3 separate regions of the Homo sapiens genome follow, and regions 1 and 2 are each linked to region 3. Evidence: promoter capture Hi-C in 16 types of primary human blood cells and fetal thymus (Javierre and others, 2016). All regions are on one chromosome and are shown on one strand. Each heading gives the region's core, a stretch centred on a gene start or on the middle of the fragment in contact. The rest is flanking DNA. Distances are from core to core; before and after follow the strand shown.

Region 1 (3,261 bases), core at 306-2,805, 220 kb after region 3:
TTAATCCAAGAAGTGAGTGCCTCCTTATTCACTGTGTGCCCCTTGTCTGTAACTGACCCTCTACTGATGTGGCTTCTGTGGACAAAGGAAAGGTTAGAAGAGCAGATTTCCCAGGACCACAGGCCCATCTTAAGGAGGCTGGGATATGGCTAGTGGGAGTTCTGCCTTCCTCCACTTCTTGGGACAGAGGCCCTGATGTCAGTCCTGGAATATCAGGAATAAGGTAACTCAGAGTAGTTTCTGTCATTAGACTCAGACTGGATTGGACAGAATTGGTTTTGCTCAACTCTGTCCTGGAGGATTGTTTTGTGGTTGATGAAAAGGAACACTTTGTAACACAGCAATTTTCTTAGGTTCTTCAATTAGGAGTTAGAAAAATGATGGATCTTTCTTTTGGGAGACCAGCAAAAAGATATTCGCTAATGTCAGTAGGTACAATTTAGAAATGACACTTAGTAACCCCAGATGTGGCTGAAATGACAGAATAATTAGGAGGCAGAGATAAAACCTGGCAGCAGGAATGAACTGAGACAGCAGCCTATTTTGCAACTTTATATAAACAGTCATACAGTCTATAGTTCTTTGCATCTGGCTTCTTTTTTTGTTGTTGTAGATAGCTGTAGTCGGGTTTTTAAAAATTGCTATAAAGTATGTGAATACACCACACTTCATTTACCCATGCCACTGTTGATGGACATTTAGGTTGTTTCCAGTTTTTGCCTGTTACATGTGGTGCTTCTATGAACACTTGTACTGGGGGAAAAAGATGCCAGGGTTAAGGGTAACTGCCTCTAAATTGCAACTTCAGTTCAAGCAAAGAAAAGAGAACATTTCCCTAGAAAGATTCTCTTACTTTTGTGTGAGTCTCCTAAATGATGACACTCAGAATGAAAAAAAATGAAAAAAATGAAAAAAAAAAAAACCAAAAAAAGAAATGGAGATGGAAGCACAGGGCTGATGACTTCTGATGGATAGCAGCAGCTGGGGTGACTATGGCAGACATCACTAATCAATCTTAGTGGTACTTCCAGGCCATCTAGATAGCCTTGGAATCCTTATCAACAAAAAGTCCCAGGCATCTGCTACCATATGATGGAGTTGGCATGCAAAAAGTAACCCACTACCATACAGGATAAGGCACTTCGAACTGAAAGTTGAGTAGACACTCAGGGTTATTTTGCAGCCCAGTATAAATCTTCAAGCAATGACTACCTCCTAGGCTACTGTGGCCTGTTGAAGCAAGTTTATATAAGCAAACACATATATCATAAATTGCTAGGGACCTTGAATAACAGGAAATTAGCAGTTATTAAATGCAAATGACTTTAGGAGGAAGAGAGGTAAAGAAAAAGAGTGAAAAGCACTGGTGGTAGTCAGTGGTGGTATGTGAGTATAAGGTAACAAACAGTGATGGTGACTGTGGCTAAAGGGAGCACACAAGGTCATCTAATCGGGGATTCCACTCCTCAGATCCAGCTAATTGCTGCCAAGTCCATTGGAACATGGCCCCAGTGAGCCAGGTCTTTGAATATTTCAATTAAAGCAAGGAAACATTTTTAAAGGATATCTCCTTATTTTTAAAGTTGGCATCCTGTTCAACAAGAAGATGAAAGAACACTAAGAAAAAAACATTATAACAATGTGTGAGTACAATAAACCATGTTTGTGGATTATTCAGCCAGGTTACTGGTTGCGATCTCTGGCTTAAAGATTTTGGTTGGAATAGGAGCATCAGAGACAGGCTTCTGAAATAGGCTGCTGTCTCGGTTCATTCCTGCTGCTATAACATAATATCTTAGACCAGGTAATTTATAATTAATAGAAATTTATTTCTCACAGTTCTGGAGGCTGGGAATTCCAAGACCATGGCACCAGAAGATTTGGCGTCTGGTGAGGGCTCATCTCCTGCATCCAAGATGATACCTTTTTGCTGTGTCCTCACATGGCAGAAGGGCAAAAAGAGCAAAGCAGGCTCCCTCAAGCCCTTTTATAAGGGCACTATCCCCATTCATGGAGGTAAGGCCCTCATGACCTAAACCTCGTAAAGTCCTCACTTAATACTGTTTTACTAGGGATTAAATTTCAGCATGAATTTTGAAGGGACACATATATTCAAACCATAGCAACTTTATTCCTATTTTTTCGGATGTTAGAATGAAAAATCACCAGTCAACTGCCTTGGGAAGTTTAGCCTTTTATCTTTTCCTAACCCAGTAAAGGGAGCCTGGTCTGCTTTCTCAGGAATGTTTGACTCTGGATGTTCCTCTTCATCCATAATTCATGAGCACTATTGGTGCTACTACCTACATTTATACAGCGTCTTACATGCATGAACACACTGCCTGGCTCTGGAAGCACGATTAGAAAATGTTGTGCCTGTGGGTATTTTTGAGCATTTTAGTTTGCCCAAAAGCTGAAGAGTGTCTGCTCTGGCTATGACAGACATTAATATTCACAGTGGCATCTCCTTTGCTCAAGAAAAAAGAAATCTGCTGGGAGTCACACAGCTCTAAATTGAAATCTGTGCACATTTACACTTACGTGTTTTAAAGAGCTGGTTTAGAGTAGTGGTTTAGAGCACATGAGTTCTAGGGCCGGGCTGCTTCGTTCTTTTTTTTATTTTTAGACGGAGTCTTGCTCTGTCGCCAGGCTGGAGTGCAGTGGCGTGATCTCGGCTCACTGCAACCTCCGCCTCCTGGGTTCAAGCAATTCTCCTGCCTCAGCCTCCCAAGTAGCTGGGACTACAGGCCTGCACCAGCATGCCCAGCTAATTTTTGTATTTTTAGTAGATATGAGGTTTCACCATGTTGGCCAGGATGGTCTCGATCTCTTGACCTCGTGATCCGCCCACCTTGGCCTCCCAAAGTGCTGGGATTACAGGCATGAGCCATCGCGCTCAGCCCTGCTTGGTTCTTTTTTTTATATTTTCTTTTAATTTTTAATTTAATTTTATTTTATTGAGATGGAGTCTTGTTCTGTCACCCAGGCTGGAGTGCAGTGGCATGATCTCGGCTCAACGCAACCTCCACCTCCTAGATTCAAGCGATTCTCCAGCCTCAGCCTCCCACATAGCTGGGACTACAGGCGCACACCATCATGCCCTACTAATTTTTGTGTTTTTAGTAGAGATGGGGTTTTGCCATGTTGGCCAGGCTAGTCTCGAACTCCTGACCTCAGGTGATCTGCCTGCCTCGGCCTCCCAAAGTGCTGGGATTACAGGTGTGAGCCACCGCACCCGGCCCTGCTTGGTTCTTAACTCTG
Region 2 (3,542 bases), core at 267-2,766, 190 kb after region 3:
CTAGCTGACCACCAGCTAAACACAGGCATGAACAAGCCTACTGAGATCAGGTGAGCCTGGTCCAGACCAGAACCAGTTCATAGACTCATCAACTTAGCAAATGCTTGTTTTGTGACTGATTTTTATGGTTGGTTGTTAGGCAGCAGTATTATGGCTATAACTTTGAGTGAGGGGAACAGAAAGTAGTCTCATTATGTGGCCTGGACCCATAAAATACTCATAAGCTAACACAGCTGGCCCCATCCTTTCATTGCTGTGGCCTCAAAGCATATTCTTGGAAAAAAAATCACCACAGGACAGATAGATTTTCAAGACAAATGTGATTTTGTAGGCTATGCCTTGGAGCCTTTCTAGCATAACATTGTCAAACTTGAGTTTGTTTAATCTTAAGTTCATAAGACCTCTTTTTGGAAAATGAACAAGAAAGACGAAAGAACATGATTGAATTTAACCTCTAAATTTAAGATGAGTTGTTATTATTATACTCAGATATTAATAAAGAAGAGTGTTGTCAGAGTTTGTTTTATTATAGGCCCAGTTCTTTAATTTGACTAGTCAGGCTCAAATTCTAAATTTCTCAGTTAACTTGATTTTCAAAAGACATTGCCCACTAGTCATTTTTGTGAACTCTGGGTAGTTAAGCAGGAAAAGGCAATACGGTCAAGTTCAAATGTATTCAATTCTTCCTGTGTTGTCAAAGATTTTTGTACTTGGGATGCTTTTCTGACTCTGACATTCTTTTCTTCTGTCTTTAAAAAAGGCAGAGATTTGATATAGTTAAGGAAAGCTTTTAGATAAAAAAAATAAGTGAAGGCCAAGGAGCAAGCAAAGTTACTCTTGAAGGTTAGCTTACAATCAGAAAACAAACAAACAAAACCCAGTATAACATAAATGTGGCATAAATATAAGACAGATTACTGAGTTATGAATCAGAGACAATCAAACCAATTTCCTAAGGAAACAAATTGAAACCAGAGAACAATAAGCCACAATGGAATAACAAAGAAGAATTGAGAAAACTTAAAAAAAAATATGCAGCTGGATAATGTGCAGACAGATATTTGCAAGGTTTTCAAAATTTGGAATTCCAGAGTCCAACTCAGGTCATTTTGCCCAATGAAGTGTATGAAAGATCTTAATATAAAATATAAGGCCAATGTATTTTATAATATAAATATTAATATATTATATTTATATATAAAAATATTTTATATGTTATATAAATATTTTATAATATAAACATAATAAATTAATATAATGTATTACATATATTAATATTTATATTATGTATATTATATATACTACGTATAGTATATATACCACTTTGTAATATAAAATATGAAGCCAATAACAATCTTAGGATTGTTATTTGCTTGTTATTTGCTTCTGTCTAGGAGAATGTGCCAAAAGTATAATTGTGATTGTGAATAACTGTATAATCATGGGGTACAGAGACCTTTTTAAGCAAGACAGAAAAACATAAGAAAGAAAAATATAGATATCTTTATCTAGATGAAAATAATCCATTTCTCTGAAAAATGAGCATAAATAAAGCAATTCATAGGAAAAGAAATAAAATACAAAGAATATATATACAATACAACTATATATATTTGAAATATAGATGAAAGCAGCTCATTAACAATTAGAGAAATGCAATAGCACAATACCTTTTCAAGGGACATTTATTATATTGATTAATTTAATTTAATTCATTAAATTTAAAAGAAATTTCCTTTAAAGAAGCAATAACATTCTGAGAAATTGACACTTTGAAACATTGGGCAATAATTTGACAAAATTTATAAGAAGGCAAACATAGGCTTGTAACCCAGCAACTCCATTTTTGGGAATTTGGCCCACAGAAACAAAACCACCAACATATAAGAATGAATACACTAAGATATTTATTTTTGTACAGGAAAAATAGCATTGATTTAGCATTGTTTGTACAGGCAAAGCAACCAAAAAATAAAACAAAACAAAACCAGCCTGTGAAAACTACCTTAATTTCAATGTTTTGCCACATATGCATTATGTATTGTCTATCTCTATATTTTTTGCTGAGTCATTTGAAAATGTTTCAGGCATCATGACATTTCACCCATAAAGACTGAAGCATACGTTTCCTAAAAAGGTTGCTTTCAGATAGCATTAGCATATTTATTTATTTGCTTTATATTAATATATCCAGAAATAGTTTCAATATTATGACCTGTCAATAAAATAAGCAAATGAAGCTTGAGACTTTTTTGAAGTTCTTTTTATTCATCAAATATATCCTACTAAGGATGCACAATTATATTACTCTGCCAAAATTCACTGAAAGTAATTATATTCTTTGTATGGTTATGTTACCTTAAATATAGACATAGGATCACTTGTTTCAGTTTGTTTTCTCAGTAGACATTTTCAATTATTTTATTCTTTTTCTTCTCTGGGAGCATCTGTTGTGCGTGTGTGTGTGTGTGTGTGTGTGTGTGTGTACATACACATATATATAAATAAAATTGACAATTTAAAATTGTATGTATTTATGTAGTACAGAATGATGCCATGATTTATAAATACAACATGGAGTAATTAAATAAAGCCAATTAACATATTTATCACCTCAAATACTTACCATTTTTTGTGGTGAGAACATTTGAAATTTAATCGCTTAGCAATTCTGAGATGTAAAATACATGCTGCATATATTTAAAATTTAATTCCTTATAGTCTTTTAACACTTTAAAAATATATCTCCTAGCCTTTGAGAGGCAGCAATAATAATATGGTACTCTAATTATCTTGCTCAGAATATTTTGGAATTTACTGCTAAAGATCAGGGAAAATAGTAAAACTAACAAAAAAGCCAAGAAACAGCAAAAACATGAATAAAACGTAAGTGTTTCTGTAAAAAAATCATAAGGCTCTCACTTAAAGAACTATGAGGTAGTCAAATAATATAAACCAATGGCTTTGAAAACAGGGAGAAATAATTATATTTTTGTGATAAGTGAAAAAATGTACCTATAGTTGTATACATACTGTGATAATAACTATGACCATTTTTTTAAAGAATACAAAACGACTTTGAAAAGAAACACTAAAATATAAACTGTGTTAGAATTATGAGTATCTTTATTTATTCTATTTCTCACTTTTATGGTAATGTGATTATTTCATTTTTAGCATAAAAATAGCATTCTAAAATGAAAACAAAATCTAATATAATTTCTATAAAATACAAAAAAGAAAAATGTAGAACTCTGAATGTGGGATACAGTGACTAGGACAATTTTACGAGAATTACTGCAAGGACTATAGTATTTTAACCTCAACATCATCAGTTAGCTAAGTGGATATTAAAAGCAATGGGAAATGCATTAAAATCATACATTCATAGAATGAATGGTTTCAAAATTAAGCCTGAGCAAACGTGCAAGGCCTCATCTTATTTTTAGAATAATCTCATGAATTTTGCTTCAAGAATAAAAATAACAGGATCATAAGAAATTTATAGACTGAGGTTAGTCATGTTACCCAAGGATTGTTGG
Region 3 (3,550 bases), core at 1,051-3,550:
AAATCAAACCCCAAAATGAAGTTAGTGGTATCTTAGGAAAATACCATGTTTACTGAAATTGCCAAATATAACTGTCCCATGTTGCCAAAGTCAGCAGTATACATTAATCTAAAGACAGTTGTGTGTAATCTTGGGAAAGGCAAACTAGCTGTGCTACGGGCACTGAATGGACTCTGCTGTGGTTGAAATATTTCAGAGGTGATACAAATTTTTAAAATCTTTTCCTGCAAAAGGTTTTTGGTAACCTGTAACACTTTTTCAACTACCATATTTCTTTATCTCATAAGGCAAAAACACACCGCCTCACGATTCCAGGACATGTAAGCAGTTTAACATCACTCACATTTTCAGGCATATAAATATAAAACTTCCAATAGAGTATTTTAGAACAAAGCTTTCTGCGTGGGTATGCATTTGCAAAATAAAGGTAGAGTTATTCCGACAGATTTAAATGTGCACCCAGTGATCAAATGGAGTTAGAAATTCTGTTTTGACAGTTACTTGTAGAACAGCATTTTCAACAGCGATTAATTCAGAGCTGGGTAGTAATACCATCAAAACTAAGTTCCAACTGTTGAGTAATAATATAGTTGGAAGGAAGTGTAGTCCATAAGCTAATACATGGTACCTTTAGATATGTTATAATACGTCACATTCAAAAGGTTACTCGTCTGGCAGCAAGTCTTACGTTCATAAAAGTGCCAATAAAAATGTTTTGCCATTTCAAAAAGTGATTTTTTATGAAAACAGGTGCTCTCCAAAGATGGCAATCATTTATTAAACTACTACAGTTCAAAAGGAAGATGATATAATAGATCAATACACCAGCTAAGGATCATGCAAGACTGTCCTATGAAAAACAGCATTCTGGATTACATAACACAGATAGTGAGGGATTACACCACATGCCCCTGCTGAGCTAGACTTTTGATCTTCTGTATGATTCTATAACTGAGGCCACTCAAATTTGAAGAGTATAAAATATGAGGGTCTCAGTTCAACCACACATTTCTGAAAACAGCCGTCTTGAAAACAATAAAAGAATAAAGTTAAAATTTTACCTTCCCCCGCAACACACACACAATTTTTCTATTCTGAAAAACACAGTTGTTCAGATACTTTCTTAACCTCCTTGGAGCCTCCCCAGGTAAAGTCACCAGTTGCTTTTCCTGGTCATGTTTACATTATAAATCTGATTTCTCTTTAAGGGGAAATTCAATATCATTTTAAAATGATACATAGCTGCCTATGTTTGAATAACGTTATTTCCAGACAAAAAGAATTATTAAACAGCTATCTCCACATACCTATAACTTAAATATATAGACCACTAAGTATTACGTATATGGAAAAAAAAACACCTTTCCTGAATATTCTGGCCAAAATTAAATTTCAAATACATGTTTTAGAACAATAGCTAGAATCACTACAGAAGTTAAGAGGAAAAAAAGTTGGAAGAGTAGGGTCATCTTTCAGATATATCCATATTTATGGAAACTATAGTGGGCAGTTGTATTTCTCTCTAGGAAAATGCTAGTTTTATGATTCTAGATAAAGTTGCACTTAAACACACTTGGAAATTAGAGAATTCCATATTTCCATACTTCGATTCAGTACCATATACGAAGTCTACACTCAGAAGTATTGTACTATACAGAGTCTAATTGGTTAAAGCAAAAGCAACTTTAAAATTCTGAAAATAAGGATTTCCTTCACTAACAGGCTTTTAGGAGGCCCGAACCCTGCCCCCAATGAGTGCTAAGCCTGTCAGTGTTGTTTTAAGTGGAAACGGTCAATCATTTCTATGATTTCCCCAGAAGAGGCAAGAAGATCCACACGCATACACATTTACATGCGTTGCACGGTGCCAACTATTTCCAACCAAAATAATCATATACACGTCGAGCCGAGCTATTTCTAGCCCAGAAGAGGGTGAACGTCTGGAGAGAGTCTGAGGAAACCCAGCAGGCGATGACTGCAGGGGAAGGGGGATGGCGTCTGGGTCCCCTGCCTCCCGCGCGCACAGGGCGCCTGGCACCCGGCACCTGCACGGGGTCCCCGCTGGGCATCCGGGTGCGCGCGCGCGCGCGTCCGGGACGCACCCGCGGAAAGCAAACAAGCCCTGAGGGCCAAGGCGGGCGGGAGCATCCTCGGGCGGGACCCGAAATGCCTTTTCCTACCTGTCACTTTGCCTGGAGCTGCTGCCGGGGATGCGGCGACGGCCGCTGCCTGGAGACCCAGTGTGTACGCGCGTGTGTGTGCGCGCCCGTGTGTGCGTGTGCGTGTGTGTGTCTGTGTGTGAGAGATCTTGTTGGCGGTGCAGCTCACTTACTGCTCCCGGCGCGGCGCCACCACCCCCTCCTCGCCATAAAGAGCCGCCGCCAAGCCCCCTCCCGGCGCACCCCAGTCCCGCCCTCCCGCCTGCCTCCGCACCCCCTCCCTGGCCTCCCCGCCTCCCCGTCTCCGCGCCGCGCGGTCCTTACCTCAGTTGAGGGCGGGGGTCTCCGCCGTGGCTCCCCAGCGAGCCCACGGGGCAGCGCCGACCCGCCCGCCCACCGCCGGGCCCTGCGCGTCCCCCGCTCCGGGCCCCGCCGCCCCTCAGCGGCCAGCCGCTTCCTCCTCCCCTGCCCCCGAGCCTCCCTCCTCGTTCTCGCCTCCCGGCTCCAGAGCCCGAGCTGTCGCCTCGCAGCCCCAACCTGCCCAGGCTACGGAGCATGCCCAGTGCGGCGCGCCGGGCTGGGCTGGGGGTGGGCAGGGGCCGGGCCGGCCGCCCAGTTGCCGCGAGCCCGCAGGGCGAGGAGTGGGCGCCGACTGGGTCGGGGGCGCAGCCTCGCGAGCCGGGGGCCGAGCAGCCGAGGCAGGTGGTGGGCAGCGCCAAGAGGAGGTGGGTGGGGCATCCGGGGAAGCCGGCCCGCGGCGCGCTCCTCTGGGGTCTCCCTGGCGGCTCCCCGCGGCATGTGCCCCATGCCCAAGGGTCGGGGGCGCACGGGATGGCGCTGGGCGCAGAACCCAGGGAGCGGGGGCAGAAAAGCGGCACCCTCCTCGGATGGGAGACCCGCAGCCCGCCGTGGGCCGTGTGGAGGGGCTCAGGACTGGCCAGAACGGGGCCCCCAAAGCCGTTGGCTGGGTGGGGGACGTGCTTATTTGTTTATATTCGGTTTCATAAACCCATACAGCGCCTACAATGCGTCCTGCAGTGTTCTAAACGCTTTTTATTCATTTAATCCCTAAAACAATCTTCCAAAGAGTACTACTGCCTCTTTTTATTTCGCGGGTCTTACACAGAGCCACAGAGATTAAGTGGTTCCAAAAAGTCTTCCCACAAGTGCAACCTCAGACATGCAAATCCCCCAGACTTTGGTCCCTGGGATGCTGGGGTGCTGCTCCAGCCAGTTCCTGGCTTTTCCCGGCCCTACAACGGCCCCCAGGTGCCTCCGAGTCACACTCACACCCAGGCCCTAATGGTGTTCGGTCTGGCATCACCCTTGTGTGGACCCTCACAACGTGCTGCTCCCGAACTCCGGAGGGCTCCCTCCTCCCCACTCCGCCT

The links. Contacts are between HindIII fragments. The CHiCAGO score rates a contact against its expected background, and 5 or more counts as called.
Region 1: a fragment that was not itself captured here is called in contact with the fragment with the promoter of PLCB4 in region 3 in 1 of 17 cell types (megakaryocytes); the score reaches 9.2 in megakaryocytes.
Region 2: a fragment that was not itself captured here is called in contact with the fragment with the promoter of PLCB4 in region 3 in 1 of 17 cell types (megakaryocytes); the score reaches 6.2 in megakaryocytes.

What each region holds. Positions count from the first base shown.
Region 1 is chr20:8,849,374-8,852,634 of GRCh38, reverse strand. All of the region lies in intron 31 of PLCB1 (phospholipase C beta 1), which reads right to left. Among named protein-coding and RNA genes, the nearest start is that of RNU105B, 20 kb to the right of the region's middle. The HindIII fragment of the contact is 5,550 bases long and covers 1-3,261 here.
Region 2 is chr20:8,873,170-8,876,711 of GRCh38, reverse strand. The region is part of intron 31 of PLCB1 (phospholipase C beta 1); the gene reads right to left. Among named protein-coding and RNA genes, the nearest start is that of RNU105B, 44 kb to the right of the region's middle. The HindIII fragment of the contact is 1,453 bases long and covers 790-2,242 here.
Region 3 is chr20:9,067,837-9,071,386 of GRCh38, reverse strand. It overlaps PLCB4 (phospholipase C beta 4), which reads right to left and starts at 2,300. Exons shown (of 40, transcript NM_001377142.1): 1 at 2,181-2,300. The HindIII fragment of the contact is 10,687 bases long and covers 397-3,550 here.